Regions from separate parts of the Homo sapiens genome. Here regions 2, 3, 4 and 5 are each linked to region 1. Evidence: promoter capture Hi-C in 16 types of primary human blood cells and fetal thymus (Javierre and others, 2016). All regions are on one chromosome and are shown on one strand. Each heading gives the region's core, a stretch centred on a gene start or on the middle of the fragment in contact. The rest is flanking DNA. Distances are from core to core; before and after follow the strand shown.

Region 1 (2,700 bases), core at 49-2,548:
CTTAGTACCAGTTAAATAATAGCCAGGAAAGCATTAGAAAACCTGAAGGTACATGTAAAGAAATGCTTTACATCACTATTTAAAATAGGTGTTGAATTTTAAGAGAAACATTTCTTTCACTAAAATTTCTGATGCCTAAGGTCCATCAGGAGTAATCTCTTTTACTCCATGATATTCACAGTAGTTTTGCTCTTGGCCTCACCAGTTTTAAGACTCTCCATTAAAGAAAGCCAATTTTATACTACCTAGGGGCACAAAAATAGTTCCCAGCTCCTCCTCTCTTTTTCCTCCTAGGTTCGGTTAAACGAGCGAACATAGAAAACACGTACACACACTCCCTTTCGGCCCTGGTCCCTAGGGCATTGATGAAAAGCAAATTATTTCTTTACATACGCTCTGCTGTCCACCCAGAGATTTAAAAAAAAAAAAATAAGGGAAAATACCAGAATCAGTCTGCACCCACACCTAAGCCCCGCCCCACCGGGAAAAAGCTGGGGGTAGCGGGATTGTGAGGGTGGCGGAAAGGACGGAAAAGGCCGAGACTTCCAGCTCCTAGGTTCTCCACACCATTCTTTCCTTCAAGCTGCACCGCAGCCAGGGACCCTGATTCTATTTTCAGCCGCGCCTCCCGATCCTCCTCCCCGCCACCATCACCAATACACGGTCCTCAATCGCTTGAATACTGGGTGGGGAGACCAGAGTGGGCCCTCTCCCCGCCCAACCCAAGGACTGTGGGTGGGAGAGGTCTCCCTGCGCACACGGCTGACTCGACGCGCGCCCCGAGGACCTCTGAACTGACCCAAGTAGGGTGAAGATAATTCGGAGGGAGGGGTCTAAGAGGGAGCCGTTATTCCTTTTTCCTCTGCCTTAGGAAAGCGCGCGAGAGGGAGGGGCCGGAACAACGAACGCTGGTTACCTAACGGTCCGGCCCAGCCAGTCAGGTTCCCAAAGCCCACACCGCGCGGGCCGCCGAGGTGGCAGCACAGCCACAATCGCCCCAAGGGCTAAGGAGCACGTCAGGAGCACCCGAGGTGATGGGAAACGGGGGGTGGGGACTGTGCTGAGCGACGTCGCCATGTTAGCGCCTTCTTTCTCCGTATCCCTACAGTCTCCAGCCCTGCTGACCTCTGCCCATCGTTACTCACCTTTCCAGGTCACTAGTTCATGATCCTTTCGGTCACCCGCGAGCCCTGAGCACAGCCGTGTTTACAAAGCACCCCTGGAGGAAAAGGCTGAACGGCACTTTAAAGGCCACGGGCTCCCACAGGCTTCCGTCCTCTCTCGCGAGATCGGACTGACAACCCCCGCCCGCTCGCCCCGCTCCCGGCATCCCCACCTTCCTTCTGGCGCCCCTCCCCTTCACCCACACGCCCCTTCTTGCCTTCCTTCTGAGGGAGCGCCTCCGAGTCAGGTGATTCCGTCAGGCTTAAGGAGAAGAAGGCGGGTCTTCGGCAGGGCGGGTAGAGGGGACGGGCATCAAAGAGCACTCGGGCGCTCATGATTGGACAAGGAGCCCGAAGGGCGGGAAGCAGTTCTGGAGGGGGCGGGACCAGAGGGCCCAAGGAGCGTTACTTCTGTAAACCCGGAGCTGTGGAAGACTGTGATTGGCTGTCGGCTGGAGGAGGGCGCGGGTGCAGGCGGCGGTGAAGGGCTAGGCAGGGCTTTGGCGGTGTGAGGGGAGGAAAGGTGGTGAGCTCCGGAAAGGCTGCTAGAGGGAAAGCAGGATGGGTCCTCCGAGCCCAGCCCCAGGAGCCGGGTGTCTCCGTTTCCGTCACTTCCCAGCACTAGGTAGGGAGGTGGGTAAAAGTAGGCTGCGTTCCTCAGCCCACCCCTTGGCTCCCCGGGAGCCTGAGGCGGGGAGCTTCGGGTTAGGTGAGGTTTGGGGGAGGCGGAGTTTGCTGGTAATTGCCCATCCCTCCCCTCCAAAAAACCCCACACAACTTAAAGATTTTAATATTAACTGTAAGGATGTTGGTTATTCAATAAATAGGCACAAGTTGAAAAGTATGATCAGAGGCCTCTGTGAGAATTTACATTATTCAATAAAAGATTTTCAGTGTCTTATTTTTTCCATTTATTAAATACTGATTTCTAGTCTGGAACAAAATTATGAACTAGTTTATATATTAACATAAAATACACTCTCAAAATTGTTGAAAGGTTTTGGGGGATAGTATGAGAGTTAATGAGCCTGAAGTTCAAGAATGATATCTGGCATAAAAGTGAAATTGTAATGGCATTGACATTTTAACAGGTAGGTCTCTGGACCGCATACATGTGTATAAGCCAACTCAGTCCTCTTTTAAAACTAATTTTAGTTAAGAAACATTAAGCCAAATTATTAACACTTTCCTACTTAAAATGAAAGTACCGTCCCCATATAGTAACAGTAATGTAGTAGTGCCATTGTAGTGTAACACTAATTATGTCAGCAAAACCTCACAGTTCAGATTACTCATGATGGAAATGGTGGACAAAATGTTTGATTGACATCACAATTGTTAGGTCTAGAACGCATTGATTAAATAGATGCTTCTCTCTCCATCTCCCAAAACAACTAATGTGAGAAAAAGAACTGCAAATGTTACGACATTTCAAAAGAAGTTTGGGTCAATTAGAATAGATTTTTTTAAAAAAATTGTTTTTCCATTTGAAATTTTTTCCAGTGTTGATTCAATTGGGCAGTAGCTTTGGTTTTAA
Region 2 (2,700 bases), core at 50-2,549, 2.2 Mb after region 1:
TTGTGATTAAATAGATCATGATCAAATACTTTGTCATATAGTTAAGAAGGCATTAGTTTATGTTGTACTTAATAAATTATAAAACATCATTCTGTCAAAATGAAATTCATAATAAGAAAATGTAATGGGTGGTTTAAAAAGGTAGACCAGCCAGTTTACTTTTGTGAGTGCATTTTGCCATTTGACTTGTGGAAGAAGACAGTGTTTGGAATGAAAGGGAATTAGGAAGAATGTGGAAGACCCAAGATCAGAGAAGAAAGGAGGAAAAGAGAATAGGTCATGGAGGGTTTACTGCCTAGTTGCAAACTGTCTTTGGACTGTGAATGAACAGGAAACTGAAGATTTAATCGCTGTGGTTATTTGTTAATATGCTTCTCTAGATTGCATTTTAAGATGGACCAGACCTTCTCTACATAGACTTTTTTATGTTGGGAAGTTACTATAGAGCCATCTACCCTTGTGGTCATTTAATAAAAATACCTGAGAATGAATTAAGTGATCTGTTTTTAGGCTGCAGAGAAATGGATTGCTGTTGTAGTCAGATGAGATACTTTATGGAACACTTTAAAAGCAAGTGCTAAGCAAATATTACTCCGTTTGATTTTATTTCCTTATTATTGAGAAGATAACTTCTGCTGTTATTCCGATTAGTATGTTAATTTCAACCCTAAACCAAATCAAGGGATCATGACTAGAGTCTACCGTTGTAGCATAAAGTATTAATAGCTCTCTGCCTATTAGTGTTCTCTTTATTTGTTGGGTCTTGGGGGTGATATTTTGTCATATCCTTGTCCCAACATCTGGGCTCAGAATCAACTGAGAGATAAGACACAGGATACAGACAGAGAGGTAAAAACATTAGCTTTTTTACTGATAATGCTGGTTGGAGATCGTGGCTTAGATCTGTACTACCTAATATTTACCCTGAATTACACTCCATCACAGGCAGTGTACCACAGAAGGCCTCCTCTGCAGGTGTAGAGCCTAACACATGCTACCAAAACAGTAGAGAGAGAACTTACAGCATAATTAACTTTTGCAGAATGAACACATCTATTTTATCTGTATTTAGATTAAGAAACAGCATTACCAGTACTCTAGGAAGCCCTCTTTGTGCTCATCCCAGTGGCTCCTTCCACCAGGATAACCACTACCTTGACTTCTAACATATAGATTTGCCTGTTTGAACTTCATGTAAATGGAATCATACAGTGTGTACTTTTTTGTGTTTGGCTTCTTTCCTTCAGAGTATTATGTTTGTGATATTCCTCCATGTTGCATCTAGTCACATTTTGTTTATCCTCATCGATGAATAGTATTCCATTGGGTAGATATATACCACAATTTATCCATTCTGTTATTGATGAACATTTAGGTGGTGGTTACTTTTGGTCCGAATAATTACTTGTTTTAATATAAAGTGCATATCAAACTAGTGTTTTTATAGATATTACTGCATAGGAAGAGGTTAAAGTAATTAAAATAGTGTTTAAGAATTAATATATTTACTTTTCTTAAGTACATCAATTGTTTGAGGTAATAAACAGAATGCTCCCAGGTACTAAATCATTTTTATAAATAAATTAAATTGGATTTTTAAACAAAGTGACCTTGCAGTGTTCACATATTATTTACGAGCTTATAAGATTTCAGCTTAAAATCATAAGTCCAACTCTATTACTCAATTACACATTTTAAATTTGAGTTACAAGTCAGTCATTCTTAAAGACTAGATTCTCTTAAGTTTTGTAAATATATAAAATATCAATTTTTTGTATAGTTTTCTTAAAAACATTAACATCTGTCTTTGGTTCTCTTAAGCATTTGTATATTTAATTCTGGATCTTTCAGTAGTTGAAATACGCTTACTCATTGAAAAAAACTGCTACTATTCCAGTAACTGCAGTTACTTTTGATGAGAGAGTTTTGCCTCCTGGGTGAGATTCGGAGGGGTAGATATCGTCTTGTCATTCACTAAGAAAACTGTTATATGATTGCATATAACATTTGTTCTTGCCAGCATGTTTGAAATTACTAATCAGAGATTTGGCCAGGTTGCTGACCAGATTCTTGTTGTTGACCTCAGTGGGACTCTCCAAATTCTATTTATAGTTGCTGTGTCAGAGACCTCATCCTATAAGCAGGGGAATGCTCAGGTATCCCAGGACCTTAGAATCAAGTAATGTGAACTATTTAATTTGCTATAATCACAGAAGTTCGCATTTCCAACTCAGATTGATTACCTAGTTGGGTTTTACATTTTTTCTAAAGGTGCTTGAACTAACTGTATAGGAATCCAGCCTAAGGAATATTAAAATGACACCTACTTGAATTCTCTTATCACTTTAGTCACATATACTATGGAGTGGATATTTTGCTGTCAACTCAAATTTTGTAGGTCGACACTATCCAGTAGAGCTTTCTGTGATAGAAATATTCTGTAATCTGTGTTATCCAGTATCATAGCCACTATGGAGCTGACTTTTAAATTTTGTTTAATTTTAATTTAAATAGGCACATGTGGCTAGTGATATACCGTGCTGGCCAGTACAGGTGTAGGTGGAAACCTAACTCATTATCTTCTTTCTCATTCTCTAGAACTTATTTATCTGGGCTTTCTCATATCTCATAGTGTTAACACTAGTCCCACAGTCACATCCTTCAATCCCTATCTTGAACTTCTTTTCATTCTTTTAAGAT
Region 3 (2,700 bases), core at 149-2,648, 2.4 Mb after region 1:
ACTGTCAAAATCAACAACTGCATATGATTCAGTCTAATACACTTGATTTTTCTAAGCCAGGTCAAGTTAGGATTGACAGTTACTTTTTGTGGGAAGAGAGGAGTGAGGAGTGGGAAATCAAATAGTAAGGCTCTTGTAAGGTTCAGAAAATAAAATGCCTGATCAGAATGCATGTGGTTCCCAGTGGGAACTCCAAATAACTCTTGGGAGTTGCGGACATGAAATGAACATTACAACTTAGAATTGACCTTTTTGGTCAGACCTGGTGGCTGAGATTTTTCCTTATTCAAGAGGCTACAACATGGAAACACTGTACAGCCAGCATATCCTAAATTGCAAACACAAAGGTAGGAATTAAGAACTGAGAACTGGACCCAGTGATTTGTGCCAGTAGTCCCAGCTACTTGGGAAGCTGAAGTGGGAGTATGCTTAAGCCTAGGAGCTGGATACTAGCCTGGGCAACAAACATAACAAAACCTGTGTCTCTTAAACAAACCCCTGAGTTCTCAGGATAGCTCTGTTATTTCTCACAGAGATATTTAAAAAGTTATCATGGAAAATAGTAACAGTGTATCTTGTTCATATATTTAAATTATTAAAGGGAACAAAAGAAAACCAGGGAAATTTGTTCTTTGATAATCGTTCATTGTCTCTACATTATAGCACCATAATTTTGTTAAGGCAACAAAATTTTTTACTGACTTTTGCACGTTAAAACCACTTATAACCTAAGGAATTTTGGTTAGGTAAAGAATTATATCCATATGAATAAACACTGCCAAAATATCCTAAAGTCTATATAAAAAGTATGCATTACAAATTAATGAGTGTAAATTGTGAGACTACTCTCACACAATCCCTGAAATGATTATTTAAAGACTACTCTTAACTATTACTGAGATAGTGCTTGGTCCCTGAATGATGTAATCCTTGTGCAAAGACCCCTCAAGATACGTCAAAGCACAAAAGATAACAGAGGAAAGGAAACAAACGTATTACAACTTCTGATATAAACATTCCTCATAAGTTTGGAATTTTTCATAACTCCTGGGGTAAAAGTTCTTAGAATATGTCACTTTCTGGGAAATTTAACAGCAAAAGTTTTAGCTACTTTTTTTTTTATAATGCATAAGTGTACAAAGTTCAACATGTAACAAATATAAAGATGCCAAAGGGTAAATAAAGCGATGCAAATTTACATAACAAAGCCATTTGATAAATGCCACTATCAGCTATTACTATATATTCCATCCTATAATCTCATAAATCAAAGCTTTTAACTGCCTAGACTCATATGTGACTGTATTCTTTCCAACATGCATTCTTTCTTCTTCCAGGGGTTGTTCAATAACAGCAGGTATGTTTCTGCCATGAAGTTCACAGTGTTCTAGAAACTGGACACATTCTTGAATAACACTATCACGAAGCATGATTGTGTGTTTTGACATGTTTTCTAACAAGGACAGGAAGCATCTTTTGGCATAATACCAGGTGTCTGTTCCCAGCTTTTTGTTGTAAGGTTCCAAGCTTTTGATAACTCGAGAAATACCAAAGTCATAATTTCCTTTGGCACAATAAAGAGTTCCTATCACCAAATTCACAATGCAGAGATGGTACATTTTCTTATCTGGGTCATCATAAGAGAGCTGCTCTTCCTCCTTTTCAATCTTCCTCATCAACTCCTCTGCTTCTTCATTTTGACTTGTCATAATATAGGAAACACAGAGATTAGCCAGTACAATAGCACTGACATTCAGGATGTTATCATAATGCTTCTTGACTATGGGTTCATAGAAACCAATGGCTTCTTTGTATTTGTTTTCCTGCATGAACAGAACATGAGCCACATTCAACTTCCACACATCATGGTCGTTACAGAATTCCACAGATTTGCGGAAGATCTTTTCCACCATTGGATAATTTTCAAGATTCCAGTAGATTTTTGCCTGAGCCATCAACACAGGAATGTATTTCTCCATGGTTTCATCATATTCATTCACTGCCTTTTTGATAGCTTCATCATCTCTATTGTGTCTTGCTTCCTGTACTTGTATGGTAAGTTTCCGGAGGACCTCAGTCAGCATCCCTGCTAGCCCATCAAGCTTAATGAAAGCCTCTTCAGGAGCTGTCTGGCAAGTGATCACAGCGTCCAAGAAGTCATAGAGATAGGGTGTGAGGAACTTATAAATCAAATGGGCATTTTCTGCCAGGACATCTGCTGCCAGGTCAAAATACTCATATTTACAGTAGAGCAGCAACAGGTTGCCAAAAGTCTCTGGAGGAAAGGGATTCTGTTGGAGCAAAAACTGTAGCTTTTCAAACCCTTCTGTAGGCCTGGCATCCATGTTCATTAGTGCCTGGTTGTGTAGGGTCACAGGGTCCAACTCTTCCTCTGCCCTGGGTGGCATGTCAGTGAGGGCTTCTTGAGCTGCCTCATAGTTTCTCAGTTGGTATTCTATAGCTGCCTTAAGGTTGAAGGCTTCCACCAGAGCAGTCTGATGGAGGACTAAGGTGTTGCCAACACTGCGAACATCAATGCCCTCAGTGGTCATGCCCACACCTAGCTCAGGGTGCTGGCGGATGCCACGCTCAATAATCTCAGCGATATGCTTCAGTGCTGAAGCATACTGTCGGCTGCTGTAATAGGCCAAAGCCAGGTTGTAGGAAAGGTCAGGCTGGTAGCCCGAGGCCTGCAGGGCG
Region 4 (2,700 bases), core at 164-2,663, 2.4 Mb after region 1:
AGTGCATGGCCTCTTCTCCTTGTATTAAATAAAACAAGAATATGAGGACTGATGATTTGATTTGGTGAGTTAGTTATGGAAGTAGTTCTGGCATCTCTTATTTCCATTCTGTTATCCATTACTTCTGTTCTGTTAATGGCAGCAGACACTTGATTAACTACTGAGATTTGGACATGCAGGAGATCCAAGGTGGATTGTGAAGTACATCATTAGCTAAATCTCCATTACATCTTCACTTCACCGGTTCCTCTGTTTCCAGATTTCTGGCAGACTGGCATCTAAAGGCCTTCATGTTAGAAGCAGGAGAGGCTCTAAATATTTCAAGAATAATTGAGGAAAAAATACACATTATAACAGCTTGTCAAACTACTGAATGGAACGGTGGTTCATCATTTTTTGGAAGGATTAAAAGCAAATCTCCTCTTCCCGAACAAAAACAAACATTAGTACAAAAACTGAAAGAGGAAGTTAAGAGAATTATACCATTTCTAAATACTTATAAAATTATTAATTTATGCGCAACCATAACAGAGACTGGGGACCACCCTATATATATTCATAGCTACGGCTGTAAGCAAAAATTCCAGGTAAAAAGGCAAAAATCCAAATTTCTTATTAATAATCAGTATAACATCCAACAATAACAATCACTTACCATAGGGGTTAACATTTACTGTAAGCCAAAATCCTAGAAAACATTAATATAAAATACAATTATATATTTCCTAGCTGATTTGCTTATATATCCAGGTCATAAAAAAAGAAAGGCAACTTTTTTCTATGTGGCTTATACAGAATCGGATGTTACAGCTAAAAGTAATTGTAAAGGCTTCTGATAGTTCAAATGATTGTGAAATCCCAAAGAATAAAGGAATTTCTGACAGCCTAAAATTAGAAGGTATGGAACTCATACTTTTATTCTTCTCATTCTCAGTTCAGTGCTTATTTTTTCCTAAAAAATTAAAAAGTAAAAATTAAAAATTTCAGTTTTTAAAAAACCAAAAATATTAATAAGCTTCCACACTTAATATATGTCAGTATCCACAAGGAGGCAAAATCATTTCTGTAAAATCAAAAATAGAACATGAAGAAAAACGTTTATTATAAAACTTAAGAAGCAACCAATCAACCAAATTATGAAAAAAAATTTTGTCACTGACCAAACCTCATAACCTGAAAAGAACCAAGAAAAGAAATTCCCATTATACTTGTACTTCTAAAAGGGCTTAGAGGTCTAAACTAGACTTCGTTGCAATCCAGAAAGTTAAAGGACTAAAAAACTGGAGAAATAGAGTTAAGAATTAGATTTATCAGACAGCATAGTCTATGCTGAGATAGCAAAATAGACATGGCTTTATTTGCTGATTGAGAAGTGGTCCAGCCGTGGGCTAGCAGTCATTTACATATCAGTGACCAAATGCAAACATACCCGTACTAACAGTGCTTTGGTCCATGACATACCCTTTTGACAGCCCAAAGCTGAAACGTCAACTCTATCTGGGGTTACTTGCTTATACAAAGATGTTACTCTAGCAATTGTTGCTTGAGGGCAAGACCAGATGATTGTCACTAGTAGGAAGAAAGCAGAAGTGATGCAGCTTACACTGCATAGTCCCTACCCTTCTGGATTAAATGAAAAAGTTGCTCAAACATAAACTTGTTCTTACAAAGTGGATAAGATTCAAAATAAGACAAATATAAAGATGCCAAGGCTAAATACAGATAAAAAAAAGTGTGGTACGTAAGAAAGCCATTTTGAAAAAAGCCACTATCAGTCATAACTACTTATTCCATCCTATAATCTCATAAATCAAAGCTTTCAATTGTCTGGACTCATCTGTGACTGTATTCTTCCCAACATGCATTCTTTCTTCTTCGAGGGGTTGTTCAATAACAGCAGGTATGTTTGTGCCATAAAGTTCACAGTGTCCTAAAAACTGGACACATTCTTGAATAACACTGTCATGAATGACTATCATGTGTTTTGACATGTTTTCTAACAAGGACAGGAAGCATCTTTTGGCATAATACCAGGTATCTGTTCCCAGCTTTTTATTATAAGGCTCCAAGCTTTTGATAACTCGAGAAATACCAAACTCATAGTTTCCTTTGGCACAATAAAGAGTTCCTATCACCAAATTCACAATGCAGAGATGGTACATTTTCCGATTTGGGTCATCATAAGAGAGCTGCTCTTCCTCCTTTTCAATCTTCCTCATCAACTCCTCTGCTTCTTCATTTTGACTTGTCATAATATAGGAAACACAGAGATTAGCCAGTACAATAGCACTGACATTCAGGATGTTATCATAATGCTTCTTGACTATGGGTTCATAGAAACCAATGGCTTCTTTGTATTTGTTTTCCTGCATGAACAGAACATGAGCCACATTCAACTTCCACACATCATGGTCGTTACAGAATTCCACAGATTTGCGGAAGACCTTTTCCACCATTGGATAATTTTCAAGATTCCAGTAGATTTTTGCCTGAGCCATCAACACAGGAATGTATTTCTCCATGGTTTCATCATATTCATTCACTGCCTTTTTGATAGCTTCATCATCTCTGTTGTGTCTTGCTTCCTGTACTTGCTTGGTGAGTCTCCGAAGCTGCTCAGTCAGCATCCCTGCTAGCCCATCAAGCTTAATGAAAGCCTCTTCAGGAGCTGTCTGGCAAGTGATCAGGGCATCTAAGAAG
Region 5 (2,700 bases), core at 58-2,557, 2.6 Mb before region 1:
ACATTTACTATCTGTTCTCTCTGAAGCCTGCTATGTGGGACCTTTATCTGTGTAATAAGAATCTTGGTCTCCACAACCCCTTGTCTTAATCCAGACACTCCTTTCAATTGATCCTAGGTCTTGAGATAGTAACTTAACTCTTTCAACCAATTGCCAGTCAGAAAATCTTTGACTCTCCCTATAACCTGGAAGCCCCCTCCTGCCACAAGTTTCCCAATCCCCCTATATTACGTCTTAAAGTTGTCCTGCCTTTTCAGACCAAAGCAGTGTACGCTTTACATGTACTGAGTGATGTCTGCCTGCAACTTCTGTTCCCCTAAAACTGTACACAATCAAGCTATGACCCGACCACCTTGGGCACATGTTTTCAGGACCTCTTGGGACTGTGCCTCAGGCCTTGGTCACTCACATTTGGCTCGGAATAAATCTCTTAAAATATTTTACAGAGTTTGAGTCTTTTTTTTAAATCAACAGTTCAAATAAATTTTTAAAACTTTTAATGTGCCCAAATTTATCTTTTAACATTACCAGTCTCAGTTTGTGAAAGTCTAGAGTTCTCCCTGTCCATGTCTGTAAATTCTTGAGGCTCATAGTCTCATTTATAGTACCCCCCACCCCACCACCACTCAGACTCTTTGTGTGCAAAGTCTATCTCCATTGCCACAAACTCTCATAAAAAAAATTCATCCTTTCCTCCAATTTTCACAAAAGCACAACACATAAAAGCTTCAGTATCCAATAATCTCTCTTTTTTTGCAAACTTTACTGAAGGTTTGGGTTATAAGGAGTGCTCACATTGTGAACAGTCTTTGCAATCTTCTGCCTCCTCCCCTTCCCCTTTGCTCTACAAAGTGAATTCCTCTCCTTGCTTCCTGTAAAGCTGTTCTGAGCCTTCCCTACAGATCTCTCCTTCCACTCCATCAGCATTTCAAAGCACTTACTCCAGATAAAAACTATGTTTGTGCTAAATAAATCCTGGTGAATAGGATGCCCTCATATCACTACACAAGTAATTACCTGAATCAAAGTACCCTTTAAAGAAAGAAGGCAAATGTATATGGAGAAAAATTATGCTTCAGTGGAATATTACGTATTGTTTAGAGCACAACTTTTCAGGGTATCTGATTCCAATTCACTGTCTTTGAGCTATTTTACAACTCTGTAAATTGCAGATAAATGGTAACAACGCACATAATTCTTACCTATACATGTGCAAATAAATTCTGTCAGGTAGAAGGGCAACCCTCCCTGATTCCCAAGGAAAGAGCCAGTTTTACAGCCTTTGCAAATTTTTCTGAATTCCTGTTTTTTCACTTCTCCTTTGAACTGGCTATAATATCTTTACTGGTTCCCTCATTTAATTAATGTATTAAATAAAATTTTTGACACATGTTCATTTTATAGCTGCATGAGAGTCATTATTTTACCTTTTTTGAAAATTATCTTTCCAGCATATCAAAAAGGGTTCTAGGGCAGGAAATGATAGCACACTCAAAAGGGAAATTGATTAATTAATTAATGAAGGGACTATTTACAGGAGTGTGGGCAGAATTAAACCTCCAGGGCTGGTGAGCACCCAATCAGCAACAGAGAAAAATTAGTACTATCTCTATGGATACTGGACAAGGGTAGGAAGCTATGGCCACACTTAGAGGAACACAAATTATAGCTTGGAAGAAAAGAAGCAGGGGGAAAAAATATGACTTTTCTTTCCTTTTGTCTTCTGAACCTCATGAAGCCAGAGGGTACTGGGGACAAGGTGACACAGTCTAGCTTGTTTTGTATTGCTTTTTCCATTCCTTTCAGTCACATCAGTCCAACATGGATCACAAATTCTCAGTGAATTTACAGGGGCTGGCTCATGTCTGCTATGTAAAAATTTTTTTATAGAAGCTTACAGTATGATTACACTTTATATCTACATGTGTGTCTTAGTCTGTTAGTGGTGCTGTAACAAAATACAGTCTGGATAATTTATAAATGACAGAAATTAGTTTTCTTACAGTTCTAGAGGCTGTGAAGTTCAAGATCAAGATGCCGGAACTCAGTGTCTCATAAGGGCTTTCTTGCTGTGTCCTCATGTAACCATCCAATAGGTTTTTCTTGCCTGCTGACCAGATAGAGCCAATTTATCAAGACAAAGAGTTTAGTGCATGTGGAGCTGGCTAAACAGAAGATGAGTTTTATTACTACTCAAATTAACCTCCTGAAAATTCAGAGGCTAGGGTTTTTTTATAGTTTGGCAGACAGCAGGCTATAGAATGGGGAATGCTGATTGGTTGGGTCAGGAATAAAATTATAGGGAGTCGAAGCTGTCATCTTATGCTGAGTCAGTTTCTGGAGGGGGCCACAAGACCAGATGAGTCATTTTACTTATCTGTGTGGTTCCAGCTGGTCCACTGGAATTCAGGATTTGAAAAATAACTCAAACACCAATGTTAGGTTTTATAATAGCAATGTTATCTATAGGAGCAATTGTGGAGGTTGGTGATCTTGTGGACTCTGGCTGCATGACTCCTGAGCTATAATTTCTAATCTTCTAGTTAATTTGTTAGTTTACTTATTTTTTGAGACAAGGTCTCGCTCTGTCACACAGGCAGAAATGCAGTGGCAGGATCTTGGCTCACTGCAAACTACACCTCCTGGGCTCAAGTGATGCTCCCCACGAAGCACTACAGGCAAGTGCCACCATGCCCAGCT

The links. Contacts are between HindIII fragments. The CHiCAGO score rates a contact against its expected background, and 5 or more counts as called.
Region 2: a contact is called between a fragment that was not itself captured here and the fragment with the promoter of ATF2 in region 1, in 1 of 17 cell types (M2 macrophages). The highest score is 5.9, in M2 macrophages.
Region 3: a contact is called between a fragment that was not itself captured here and the fragment with the promoter of ATF2 in region 1, in 1 of 17 cell types (total CD8 T cells). The highest score is 6.0, in total CD8 T cells.
Region 4: a contact is called between a fragment that was not itself captured here and the fragment with the promoter of ATF2 in region 1, in 1 of 17 cell types (total B cells). The highest score is 5.1, in total B cells.
Region 5: a fragment that was not itself captured here is called in contact with the fragment with the promoter of ATF2 in region 1 in 1 of 17 cell types (neutrophils); the score reaches 9.2 in neutrophils.

What each region holds. Positions count from the first base shown.
Region 1 is chr2:175,166,905-175,169,604 of GRCh38, forward strand. It overlaps ATF2 (activating transcription factor 2), which reads right to left and starts at 1,299. Exons shown (of 14, transcript NM_001880.4): 1 at 1,146-1,299. MIR933 (microRNA 933) reads right to left here and starts at 805; the gene lies at 729-805. RefSeq lists a silencer at 1,248-1,317. The HindIII fragment of the contact is 6,773 bases long and covers 1-2,700 here.
Region 2 is chr2:177,398,638-177,401,337 of GRCh38, forward strand. All of the region lies in intron 1 of AGPS (alkylglycerone phosphate synthase), which reads left to right. Among named protein-coding and RNA genes, the nearest start is that of AGPS, 7.2 kb to the left of the region's middle. The HindIII fragment of the contact is 3,153 bases long and covers 1-2,700 here.
Region 3 is chr2:177,549,528-177,552,227 of GRCh38, forward strand. It overlaps IFT70B (intraflagellar transport 70B), which reads right to left. Exons shown (of 1, transcript NM_152517.3): 1 at 1-2,700. The coding sequence ends at 1,239. Among named protein-coding and RNA genes, the nearest start is that of IFT70B, 1.9 kb to the right of the region's middle. RefSeq lists an enhancer at 2,269-2,700. The HindIII fragment of the contact is 254 bases long and covers 1,272-1,525 here.
Region 4 is chr2:177,614,923-177,617,622 of GRCh38, forward strand. It overlaps IFT70A (intraflagellar transport 70A), which reads right to left. Exons shown (of 1, transcript NM_152275.4): 1 at 1-2,700. The coding sequence ends at 1,782. IFT70A-AS1 (IFT70A antisense RNA 1) reads left to right here. Exons shown (of 3, transcript NR_198966.1): 2 at 2,379-2,598. Among named protein-coding and RNA genes, the nearest start is that of IFT70A, 2.5 kb to the right of the region's middle. The HindIII fragment of the contact is 801 bases long and covers 1,014-1,814 here.
Region 5 is chr2:172,550,602-172,553,301 of GRCh38, forward strand. The region is part of intron 1 of PDK1-AS1 (PDK1 and ITGA6 antisense RNA 1); the gene reads right to left. Among named protein-coding and RNA genes, the nearest start is that of PDK1, 4.1 kb to the right of the region's middle. RefSeq lists an enhancer at 2,220-2,514 and a silencer at 2,220-2,514. The HindIII fragment of the contact is 1,167 bases long and covers 725-1,891 here.